Linked DNA regions of Homo sapiens: region 2 is linked to region 1. The links are contacts of gene promoters, found by promoter capture Hi-C in human tissues and cell types (Jung and others, 2019). All regions are on one chromosome and are shown on one strand. The core of a region is centred on a gene start or on the middle of the fragment in contact, and the rest is flanking DNA. Distances in the headings are between cores, read along the strand shown.

Region 1 (5,441 bases), core at 2,724-5,223:
GTAGGGAGACACGCAGGAAACACACAAACCGGCCAAAATATAAAATCATTCCAAATCATGATAAATAATCTGATACTGAAGTAAAGATGATCATGTGGTCACCTCAGTGAGATGGTCTGGGAGGGTCTCCCAGAGACTCGAAGAGCAAGGAGGAACAATTGGCCTTGAGAAAAGCAGGAGGAACAGCATCCTGGTCAGAGGGAACAGACAGTGCAAAGGCTCTGTGGCAGGACCTTACCTGGTGTGTTGGAGGCACAGCAAGGAGGCCCGAGTGGCGGGAGCAGAGTGAGCGAGGGTGACAGAGGGCGGGGAAGGGGGTAGGTTATGCAGAGCTTGGTGAGCTGTGGGAAGAGCTTAAGCTTTTACTCTAAATAAGATATTTCCTATCTCCTCCCAGCACTGTTGACTCCAGGAATTTTTGCTCTGTTGCCCAGGCTGGAGTGCAGTGGCGTGCTTAGAGTTCACTGCAGCCTCAAACTCTCACATCCAAGCGATCCTCCTACCTCAACCTCCCAGGTAGCTGGGATCACAGATGTGTACCACCATGCCCAGCTAACTTCTAAAACTTTTTGTAAAGACGGGGTCTCCCTATGTTGCCCAGGCTAGTCCCAAATACCTGGGCTCAAGCCATCCTCCCGCCTCAGCCTCCTAAAGTGCTGGGCCAAAGTGCCTGGCCAACTCCAGGGATTTTAAAGACTGTTTTGTTTACTTCTGTTGTCCACAGCACTTCAAACAACCTGGGAGCGGGGCCGGATGCATGGCCTGAACAGATGGGTTTCCCAAGCACATGCTGGAATGTATTTTTTTTTTTTTTTGAGACAAAGTCTCACTCTGTTGCCAGGCTGGAGTGCAGTGGCGCTCAGCTCACTTACAACATCTGCCTCCCGGGTAGAAGCGATTCTCCTGCCTTCTGAGTAACTGGGACTACAGGCACGCGCCACCACGCCCAGCTAATTTCTGTATTTTTAGTAGAGATGGGGTTTCACCATGTTAGCCAGGCTGGTCTCAAACTCCTGAGCTCAGGCAATCCACCTGCCTTGGCTTCCCAAAGTGCTGGGATTACAGGCGTGAGCCACCGCACCTGGCCAACGTATTTTTTGTTTGAGAGGGAGTCTCACTCTGTTGCCCAGCTGGAGTGCAGTGGTGTGATCTCAGCTCACTGCAACCTCTGCCTCCCAGGTTCAAGCAATTCTCCTGCCTCAGCCTCATGAGTAGCTGGGACTACAGGCATGCACCATCACACCTGGCTAATTTTTGTATTTTTAGCAGAGACAGGGTTTTGCCATGTTGGCCAGGCTGGTCTCGAACTCCTGACCTCAGGTGATCCACCCGCCCTGGCCTCTCAAAGTGCTGGGATTACTGGCATGAGCCACCGCGCCCAGCTGCTACAATGTATTTTAATTCTGTTTTTGATGTATTTAATCTGTTTTCTTTGACTGCTCACAAAATCCCTCAGAGGTACTAGTGGTTGTCCCCCTTTTCTAGATGGGGACAGCTAGGCTTACAGTGTTGCGGCCACTTGTTTGAGGTCACCTCCCAAACAGGTCACTGGGCTGGGGTTCGTGCCATGATCAGCCCCTCCACGATCAGCCATCTCATTTTACTGTGTCTCCACCAATTCTCCAAGGCTTCAGCACCCACTGTGCGTGAGAAACCACGCTAAGCATTTGTGCACAGACCACCCCATTTGATCCTTCAAGATGGGATCGTGTTCCCATTGCTTGGATGAGAAAACTGAGGCCAGATTGTAAACGGTCAGATCAGGGTCACCCCACCAGGAAGAAAAACAAAGTAGGCTCTGCAAACGTGGCTGCTGCACTGGCCGCTGGGAAACTCCAAGCTTAAATTAGGTTCCTTGTTAAATTATTCATTATCTCCTCTCTTTTCTCCTGTTTATGACTTCCGCCTTATCGTTTTGTTCCCCGGGTTAATGCTTTTTGTTTATCTGCATCTGTGGCCTGGAATGAATGAATCAACAATTTTGGAGGAAAAAAAAAACCAATTCTAAAGTTGAGTTCCTCTGTTGGGCACCAGGCCTTCTCCAAATATGTGCCTTGAGGAAATAAATGCTTTCGACATGATCAAAACACAAGGACTGATGTGCAATCTTGCTTGGTGGCTGTGAGCCCTCCAACCCCCTTACCTTTGTCAATATCCCCCTTTTATTTACTTCCGCTCTGTTTTTTTTCCTTATTTTTGAGAGTCTCACTCTGTCGCCCAGGCTAGAGTGTGCAGTGGTGTGATATTGGTTCACTGCAACCTCCGCCTCCCGGGTTCAAGAGTTTCTCCTGCCTCAGCCTCCCAACTAGCTGAGACTACAGGCACCTGCCACCACGCTCGGCTAATTTTTGTATTTTTAGTAGAGATGGGGTTTCGCCATGTCGGCCAGCCTGGTCTCGAACTCCTGACAAGTGATCTGCCCACCTTGGCTTCCCAAAGTGCTGGGATTACAGGCATGAGTCACCGGGCCCGGCCTCTTTTCTCTTATTATTCCATCTTCAGGCACCAATGGCAGCCAGGCTGCCACATTATAGCAATTCATCATCACACCCTCCTTAGGAGCAGGGGCTACCTTGCCCCATTTTACAGATGAGAGCTGAGATCCAGAGGCAAATCCATTCTACAGATGGGGAAAGTGAGGCTCCGGGCCTCACACAGCAAATCAGTGTTTTAGCTGGGTTCCAACTGTGGCTCGTCCTGACTCCAGGGAAGCAGGGGATGGTAATTAGGTGAGACCTGTGTAAAGTGCTTACTCTATAAGAAGTGCTCCATCATCCATTCATTCATGTGTTCAACCTACAATAGGGATCTCTGGAGCCACACTGTAGTGTAACTAGAATAAAAACGGGATAATGGGACCAGGCGCGGTGGCTCACGCCTGTAATCCCAGCACTTTGGGAGGCCGAGGTGGACGGATCACTGAGGTCAGGAGTTCAAGACCAGCCTGGCCAACATGGTGAAACACTGTCTCTAACAAAAATACAAAAATTAGCCAGGCGTGGTGACAGCACGCCTGTAATTCCAGCTACTCCGGAGGCTGAGACAGGAGAATAGCTTGAATCCAGGAGGCGGAGGTTACAGTGAGCCGCGATCACGCCACTGCATTCCAGCCTGGGCGACAGAGTGAGACTCCGACTCAAAACCAAACAAACAACAACAACAACAACAAACCGGGATAATGGGATAGAGTGGAGTGGGGCGTGGCTGGTAGCTGTTGTCAGGGAGGGCTTCTCCCAGGCGCTGCTTATTTGAGCAGAAATTGGAAAGATGAGAAGGGGAAGTTCTTGGATGCTCAAGTTAGAGGAACTGTAAGAAGCTGGCTGAGGCGGGAGGATCACCCGAGCCCAACTACTCAGGAGGCTGAGGCGGGAGGATCACCTGAGCCCAGGAGTTTGAAGCTGCAGTGAGCTATGATCATACCACTGTACTGAGGCCCAGGTGGCAGACCCCATCTCTGAAAAAGCAAAGAAGGAGCAGCTGGTTTTTCTGGATCATTGACATGGTGGGGGGGAGGGGACAGGGTAGTGGGCGCTAATGTGAAACGGCGAGCTGCAGAGAGGAGGCGGGATTTTATTCCAAGGGTACTGGGGAGCCGTGGCACAGTTTAGGGCAGCGCACAGAAAGTGCCATGCCCTTTGCACCCAGGACGCTGGGGCTCCCGCACGGACAGTAGCCCCAGGGGCCCTTCCCGCCGCCGCCGCAGCCGCCACCACCACCACCACCCCAGCCGCCCACGTGTCCCGCGAAGCCCCGCGCCCCACGTGCTCCCGCGGCCCTTTAAACACCCCGGAGCCACGTGACCGCGCTGCGCCGTCCCATTGGCCGGGGGGCGTGGCGGCCGCGCGGCTGCGCAGTGACGCGCACGGGCCGGCCCTGCCCCCGACCCGGCGGCGGCGGCGGCGGCGCTGGCGGAAGGGATGACGTCACCGGCTGGGGGGGCGCGCGAGCGGGAGCTAGGGGAGCGCGAGCCGCAGTGAGTGTCCTCGCGCCGCCCGCCCGGCAGCCCGGCCGGCGCGCGCACGCCGCGAGCCGCTGGCGCTCGGGCTCCGCTCGGATCCCATGCAACAGCCACGATGTGAAGCGGGGCAGAGCCGGGGGAGCCCAGCCCAGCCAGCCTCCAGGTAAAGCCAAAAAAAAAAATAAAATCATGGATTAGAGGAAAAAAAAATGCAGGCGCTCCAAGGGGGGTCTCGGAGGCAGCCGAGTGGGCAGCGCGCCGGCTTTGTGCCGGGGAAGCCTGCACGGCCATTGTGCTCGGAGGATGCTCGGCTGCAGCCAGTTGCACGCCCAGCCGCTGCGCCCCGGTAGCTGCGCCCGGACAATGCCCCGAGGGACAGGGCCGGGGCCGCGCTGGGGGCGCTCGGCAGGGGGTGCTGGGGGGGCTTCGTCCGCGGCGTGGGAGGGGGCTGGGCTGGAAGCGCCCAGAGCGCGGCATTGGAAGCTGCCCAGCGCCGCCGGCTGCACCACCCCGGGCTGCGGGCGGGGCAGAGGCGCGGAGGGGGGCGCGCGTGTGTGCGGAGCCGGTGCCGGCCCCGGCGGCGCCCGGCCCGGGTCCCCGGGCGGGTCCTGGAGGCAGGGGGCGCTGTGCCGGGGGATGGGGGGCATGCGGGCGCCCCGGAGCGGAGAGGAGCCGGGACGGGTGGCTCCAGGCGGGGTGGCTCCAGGGCTGCTGCGCCCGCCGCCTTCCCTCTCCGGGTCTCCCTCCCCTGGAGACCCCCTAGTCTACGCCGTCTCCCCTGGAACACTCCGGGCCCTGTCGTTGCCTTATGGGAGGTCGCCCCTCCGGCACTCGGGCATTGCCCCACCCTTCTGCGGCCTCGGCGCCCCCTTCCAGCCTCCCCACCCAGGGGCGAGCCTCAGCCCCCAGCCCCAGGGGCTCTGGCAGGCAGACGCGCACGCCCAGCACCCCAGTCTCCCCTCCGCGCTGGGGGCCCCGTGGGGATCCCGAGAGTGGGGAAGCCGCCCCTGGAACCGCCAGCCCCGCGGGTTCCGCACGCCCCGGGAGCCCCCGGGGGCTGCGGGGGGAGGGGAGGTGACGTCATACCGGGGGCGGGGCCGTCGGCACTGGGTTAAAGGGGGCGCGGGGCGTGCCCTGAGGGGAGCCCCCCAGGTTAGAGTGCCCGCGCCGTGGGTGCGAGGGTTCGGCCAGGTTGCGGCCAAGTTCACCTCTCTTTATGGGAATCTCTCCTAAAATTAAGATCCTCCCCTTCGGACCTCCCCCTACAAATCCTGGACATTTCCCACCAATTCCCCCCCTTCCCAAATTGGGGAACTCCCCTTCGGCCGCTTTCTCTCCAGAATCCTCAAATCAGGGAACCTTTCCCACAAACTGGGAATCTTTTTTTCAGCCACACCCCCCGCCCCAAATCTGGGACCTCCTTCTTCGGTTGACCCTCTTTCCCCAGTCTCAAATCGTCTTCTCGTCTCCCTAAATATGCAGC
Region 2 (5,257 bases), core at 681-3,180, 350 kb after region 1:
AACACAAAGGAACTCACTCTGCTTCCACTCTGTCGCCCCCAGGCCCTGGCAACCTTGGATCTTGTCCTCCATCTCTGGAGAACTCAAATTGCTAAAATCGGGAATGAAAGATGGGACCTTACCACTGCCACCCGTCTCACAGAAATAAGCAGAATGAGAAAACAACACCCGTATGGAGAACTACTGAGTAATAAAAGAAAGTAACTACTGATACACACAACAACTTCGACAGATTGCAAGCGAAAAAACCCAATCCCAAGAGGTTAAATACGCTGTGATTCCATCTACATAACATTCTCAAAAGGGCAAGGTTACAGAGATGCAGAGATCCTCAGCCGTCGCCAGGGCCTGGGGGTGACAGAAGGGAGAAGCAGAGCGTTCCTTTGTGTTGACAGAACAGTTCTGTATCTTGATTGCAATGGTGGTTCCTGGAATCTGTGCAGGTAACAGAATGTCGCAAAGACTCTACCAAAAGAATGAGCCAGTGCTAACACTGAGGACGCCTGAGGAAGGTCTGAAGCCACAGTGTCCTGTGTCAATTTCCTAGTTTTAACGGGACACTAAAGTTATGTAAAATGTTACCACTGGAGACAGCAGGGTGAAGCCTAGGGAAATCTCTTTATTATTTTTGCAACACCTTGGCAGTCTATAATTCATTCTTATTTTTGCTTTTGTAGCGACAGGGTCTCACTGTGTTGCCCAGGCTGGTCTCGAACTACTGGACTCAAGTGATCCTCCCACCTCTGCCTCCCAAAGTGCCTGGATGACAGGTGTGAGCCACCACACCCAGCCTCTGTAATTCTTTAAAAATTAAAAGTTAACAAAAATAATATGAGGGCTATTTCACCACAGATGGGGGTAGGGCAGGGGGGGTTGCCATGGGTTGATGGTTTTGGGGCTGGGTGAGGGGCCTGGGGGGCTCGTTATTCCATGTTGTCTACCTTTCTGTGTAGTCAAATTCTCCATAACAGTGTTTTTATTTTTATTTTTTGCTTTACTATTTTTTGAGACCGAGTCTCACTCTGTCGCCCAGGCAGGAGTGCAGCGGCACAATCTCAGCTCACTGCATCCTCCGCCTCCTGGGTTCAAGCAATTCTCCTGTCCCCTCCCTAGTAGCTGGGACTACAGGCGCCCGCCATCACGCCCAGCTAATTTTTGTATTTTTAGTAAAGACGAGGTTTCACCATATTGGTCAGGCTGGTCTCGAACTCCTGATCTCAGGTGGTCCGCCCACCTCAGACTCCCAAAGTGCTGGGATTATAGGCGTGAGCCATCATACCCGGCCCATAATAAAGTTTTTTAAAAAAAATAATAAAGGGAACCAACACAAGAATAGCACTAAGAAGGGCCTTATCCATCCGGGTTTATAAATATCCTTCAAAATGCACAGTGTTAGAATTACGGGCCATCTCATCGAATATTCTCCCCAAAACAAAGGCCGGAGAGGCGACCAGAACTAGTTCAGTGTTTGTACAACACAGATCTAAAAGAGACACTGGATTACCCCCAGGCCAACTTCCATAATGACAGTATTAAAACACGGCATGTGAGCTTTGCCCAATACTCATGACCTCTAGATGAGCTCTCCACGGCCCCAGGATCCCAGGCACAGCCCTCCCATCTCCTCGCCACGCTGCCTTCAGACTCAGGTAACAGATGCATCCTGCCAGAGGCCACCTGCCCCAGGCCCTCATTCCAGTACAGAAACCTGCACTGCTAAGTCAGGGCATGTCTGCCTCGGGCTCCACACAAGTGTCTCCCTTTCTAAGTCCCTGTTTTTGGGTGGAAGTGAACTGCTCTAACACCAAGGTTCTGACCCTCTTTTTGTGGGGCGGGGACAGGGTCTCACTCTTTTGCCCAGGCTGGAGCACACTGGTGCAATCGTGGCTCACTGCAGCCTCAACCTCCTGGGTTCAAGCGATCCTTCTGCCTCAGCCTCCCAAGTAGCTGGGATTACAGGTGCCACCTCCATGCTCAGCTAAGCTTTTAATTTTTTTGTAGAGACTGGGTCTCATTATGTTGCCCAGCCTGGTCTTGAACTCCTGGCCTCAAGTGATCCTCCCACCTCAGCCCCCCAAAGCGCTTGGATGACAGGCATAAGCCACCCACTGCACCTGGCCCAAACTGTTTCTAAAGGAAATTAACAAGGGATGACATGAAAAGGAAGACTGAGTCAGACACCGTGGCTCACGCCTATAATCCCAGCACTCGGAGAGGCCGAGGCGAGTGGATCACCTGAAGTCAGGAGTTCAAGACCAGCCTGGTGAACAAGGTGAAACCCTATCTCTACTAAAAATGCAAAAATTAGCCGGGCACAGTGGCGCATGCCTGTAATCACAGCTACTTAGGAGGCTGAGGCAGGAGAATCGCTTGAACCCAGAAGGCAGAGGTTGCAGTGAGCCAAAATCGTGCCCTTGCACTCCAGCCTGGACAACAAAGTGAAACTCCATCTCACAAAAAAAAAAGAAGAAGAAGAAGAAGAAGACTGGGCATGGTGGCTCATGCCTGTAATCCGAGCACTTTGGGAGGCTGAGGCAGGCGGATCACCTGAGGTCAGGAGTTCAAGACTAGCCTGGCCAACATGGTAAAACCCTGTCTCTACTAATAATACAAAAAAATTAGCTGGGCGTGGTGGTGCATGCCTGTAATCCCAGCTACTGGGGGAGGCTGAGGCAGGAGAATCGCTTGAACCTGGGAGACGGAGGTTACAGTGAGCCAAGATCGTGCCACTGCACTCCAGCCTGGGCGACAGAGCAAGACTCTGTCTCAAAACAAACAAACAAACAAAAAAAAACAAAGAAAAAGAAACAGAAACAGAAAAAAGAAAGGAAGACTGGCAGACACAGCCAACAGCACGTGTGAACACGGCCCCCCTGCCCCACCATCCTTAGGCAAAGAACCAGCACTCTGCAAGCGGCTTCCACCCCAGGCCACAGGGCCCTTCACAGAGCACCCTGCCAAGCCCTCCACGGCAGCGACTCACCTCTACCACTTCAGCACTGTCCAGACAGCCACCCTCCCGTCCTCTCATCACAGACAAGGAAGCGGAGGCAAGGGACCGGCCCAGTGAGACTGTGAAATACATTTTGTCCTGTTTCCTGGCCTACGACTCCCCCAGATCCTCGGAATTCTCCAGTGTGCTAATGAGGTGACTAAGGGCTTGGCAGCCCCTCGGGAGCTGAGGGAATAGGGCTGCTCACTGAAAAGACCCAGGCTGGACGGGAGGGGAGGGGCATGTGGCTGAAGGCTGACTTGATCACCCAGGCCAATGCAGTGAGGTCACCCAAGCCTCTGCGAGGAAGCTGAGGTAAAACCCGGAGGACTGGGATGGAAGCTTCCCCACAGATGAATGCGTGGAGGTTCCTGGAGACGTCACAGCCCGGGGAGAGCACGGAACCCTCTGTGCCCCTTCCCACATCCCTCACCCTACACATGTCTTCATCTGCCTCCTTTGTAAAATCCTTTCTAATAAGCTGGTAAACGTAAGTAACAGCTCCCCTGAGTTTTGAGAGGTGCATTAGCAAATTAAGCTCAAAGAAGGGTTCATGAGGCCGGGCACGGTGGCTCATGCCTGTAATCCCAGCACTTTGGGAAGCCGAGGCGGGTGGATCACGAGGTCAGGAGATTGAGACCATCCTGGCTAACATGGTGAAACCCCGTCTCTACTAAAAATACAAAAAATTAGCCGGGCGTGGTGGCGGGCACCTGTAGTCCCAGCTACTCCGGAGGCTGAGGCAGGAGAATGGCGTGAACCCAGGAGGCGGAGCTTGCAGTGAGCCTAGATCGCACCACTGCACTCCAGCCTGGGAAACACAACAAGACTCCGTCTCAAAAAAGAAAAAAAAAGAAGGGTTCATGAGAAGGCTGGTTTCCAGCGCGTCCAGCAGAAGCTCAGGACACAGCCTGGGGCTTGTGACTGGCATGGGCCGTGGGGTTAGGTACGTGGGGAGGAGCCCGCAGCCTGTCCTGCCCGATGCAGCCCCCAGGTAGGAGTGAACTGAACGGAGGGCCCCAGCTCCTGCCCCTGCACCGCTTTGCTCGCGTGTGCTGGAAGGGATCTGTGACTGCTCTGACAGCCTGGGAGAAACTGAGTTTGTTATTCCCACGTTCTCAGGCCCAAGACCACATCGCTGTGCAGGAAGTGGCCGAGCTGGGGGCGTGAAACCAGCTGCTGCACCCTGGGAGTAGCAGTGATCTCCCCACTCCACATTCAACCCACCAGCCAGGCCTATCCTGTCTACCTCCAAAAGCCACCCCCAGTCCAGGCCGCAGCCCCAGCCCAGACCCCCTTCTCCTGAGCCATTGCCATGAATCACCTGGGCGACGCCTGGAGTTTCCCGACAGGTCCCCTGCTTTCACTCCTGACAGCCACCAGAGAGGTCTTTAAAACACATATACTGGCCGGGCGCAGTGGCTCACGCCCATCATCCCAGCACTTTGGGAGGCCTGACAGCAGAAGCATTGCCATCCCGGACAAGCCCCTCATTCTAAAAGTTCACCTTAATAAAAGACCGCTAAATCCAAAGGGTATCAGCCTAACAGCTAAGATCAGCATGACCATAAACCACAAATAGCATCTCCAGCCAGAAACATCGCAAACTCCTCCCCAACCAGAGACATGCCAGCCCCGAGATAACCCCCCTCCGGCCGGGAAGATGTCTGCCCCAAGATAACCTCCCCTCCTCCCAGACAGATTCCAGCCCTGCCATAAACTTCTCCACACACAGAAACGTTCCAAGCTTGTGATAAGCCCCTTCACCCTAAAACCAATATATACTCTTAGTCTATAAGAGAAAGCGCTCCTGACCGCAATCGGCCAAGAGCGCCTCTCAGGTTTTAACTAAAGAAAACTTGCCTTTAACTGCCAGCTGCATTTTGTGTTTCTTTCCTCTTTCTTTAACTCTTACAAGGCCGAGGAGAGCAGATCACCTGAGGTCAGGAGTTTGAGACCAGACTGGGCAACATGGCGAAACCCCATCTCTACTAAAAATATAAAAATTAGCCAGGCGTAGTGGCGGGCGCCTGTGATCCCAGCTACTCAGGAGGCTGAGGCAGGAGAATCGCTTGAACCCAGTAGGCAGAGGTTGCAGTGAGCCGAGAGATTGTGCCACTACGCTCCAGCCTAGGCGACAGAGCAAGACTCCGTCTCACAAAAAAAAAAATAAAATAAAATAAAAATAAAAAAAGGCATAAACCTCTGACAGCAGTGCCTCCAGCCTTTGCCCTCACGGCTGACTAGGCAGCAGGCACTGCTGCT

The links. The method cuts DNA at HindIII sites, captures the fragments that hold promoters and counts their contacts. A contact is called where the count stands out against the background at its distance.
Region 2: a fragment that was not itself captured here is called in contact with the fragment with the promoter of PTPRS in region 1 in 2 of the 25 tissues and cell types used here (H1 embryonic stem cells and dorsolateral prefrontal cortex).

Annotation. Positions count from the first base shown.
Region 1 is chr19:5,339,344-5,344,784 of GRCh38, reverse strand. PTPRS (protein tyrosine phosphatase receptor type S) reads left to right here and starts at 3,973. Exons shown (of 38, transcript NM_002850.4): 1 at 3,973-4,121. RefSeq lists a silencer at 3,766-4,045. The HindIII fragment of the contact is 6,208 bases long and covers 1,101-5,441 here.
Region 2 is chr19:4,986,867-4,992,123 of GRCh38, reverse strand. The region is part of intron 1 of KDM4B (lysine demethylase 4B); the gene reads right to left. Among named protein-coding and RNA genes, the nearest start is that of KDM4B, 20 kb to the right of the region's middle. RefSeq lists enhancers at 1,355-1,854, 1,855-2,356, 2,573-3,077, 3,078-3,583. The HindIII fragment of the contact is 6,577 bases long and covers 1-5,218 here.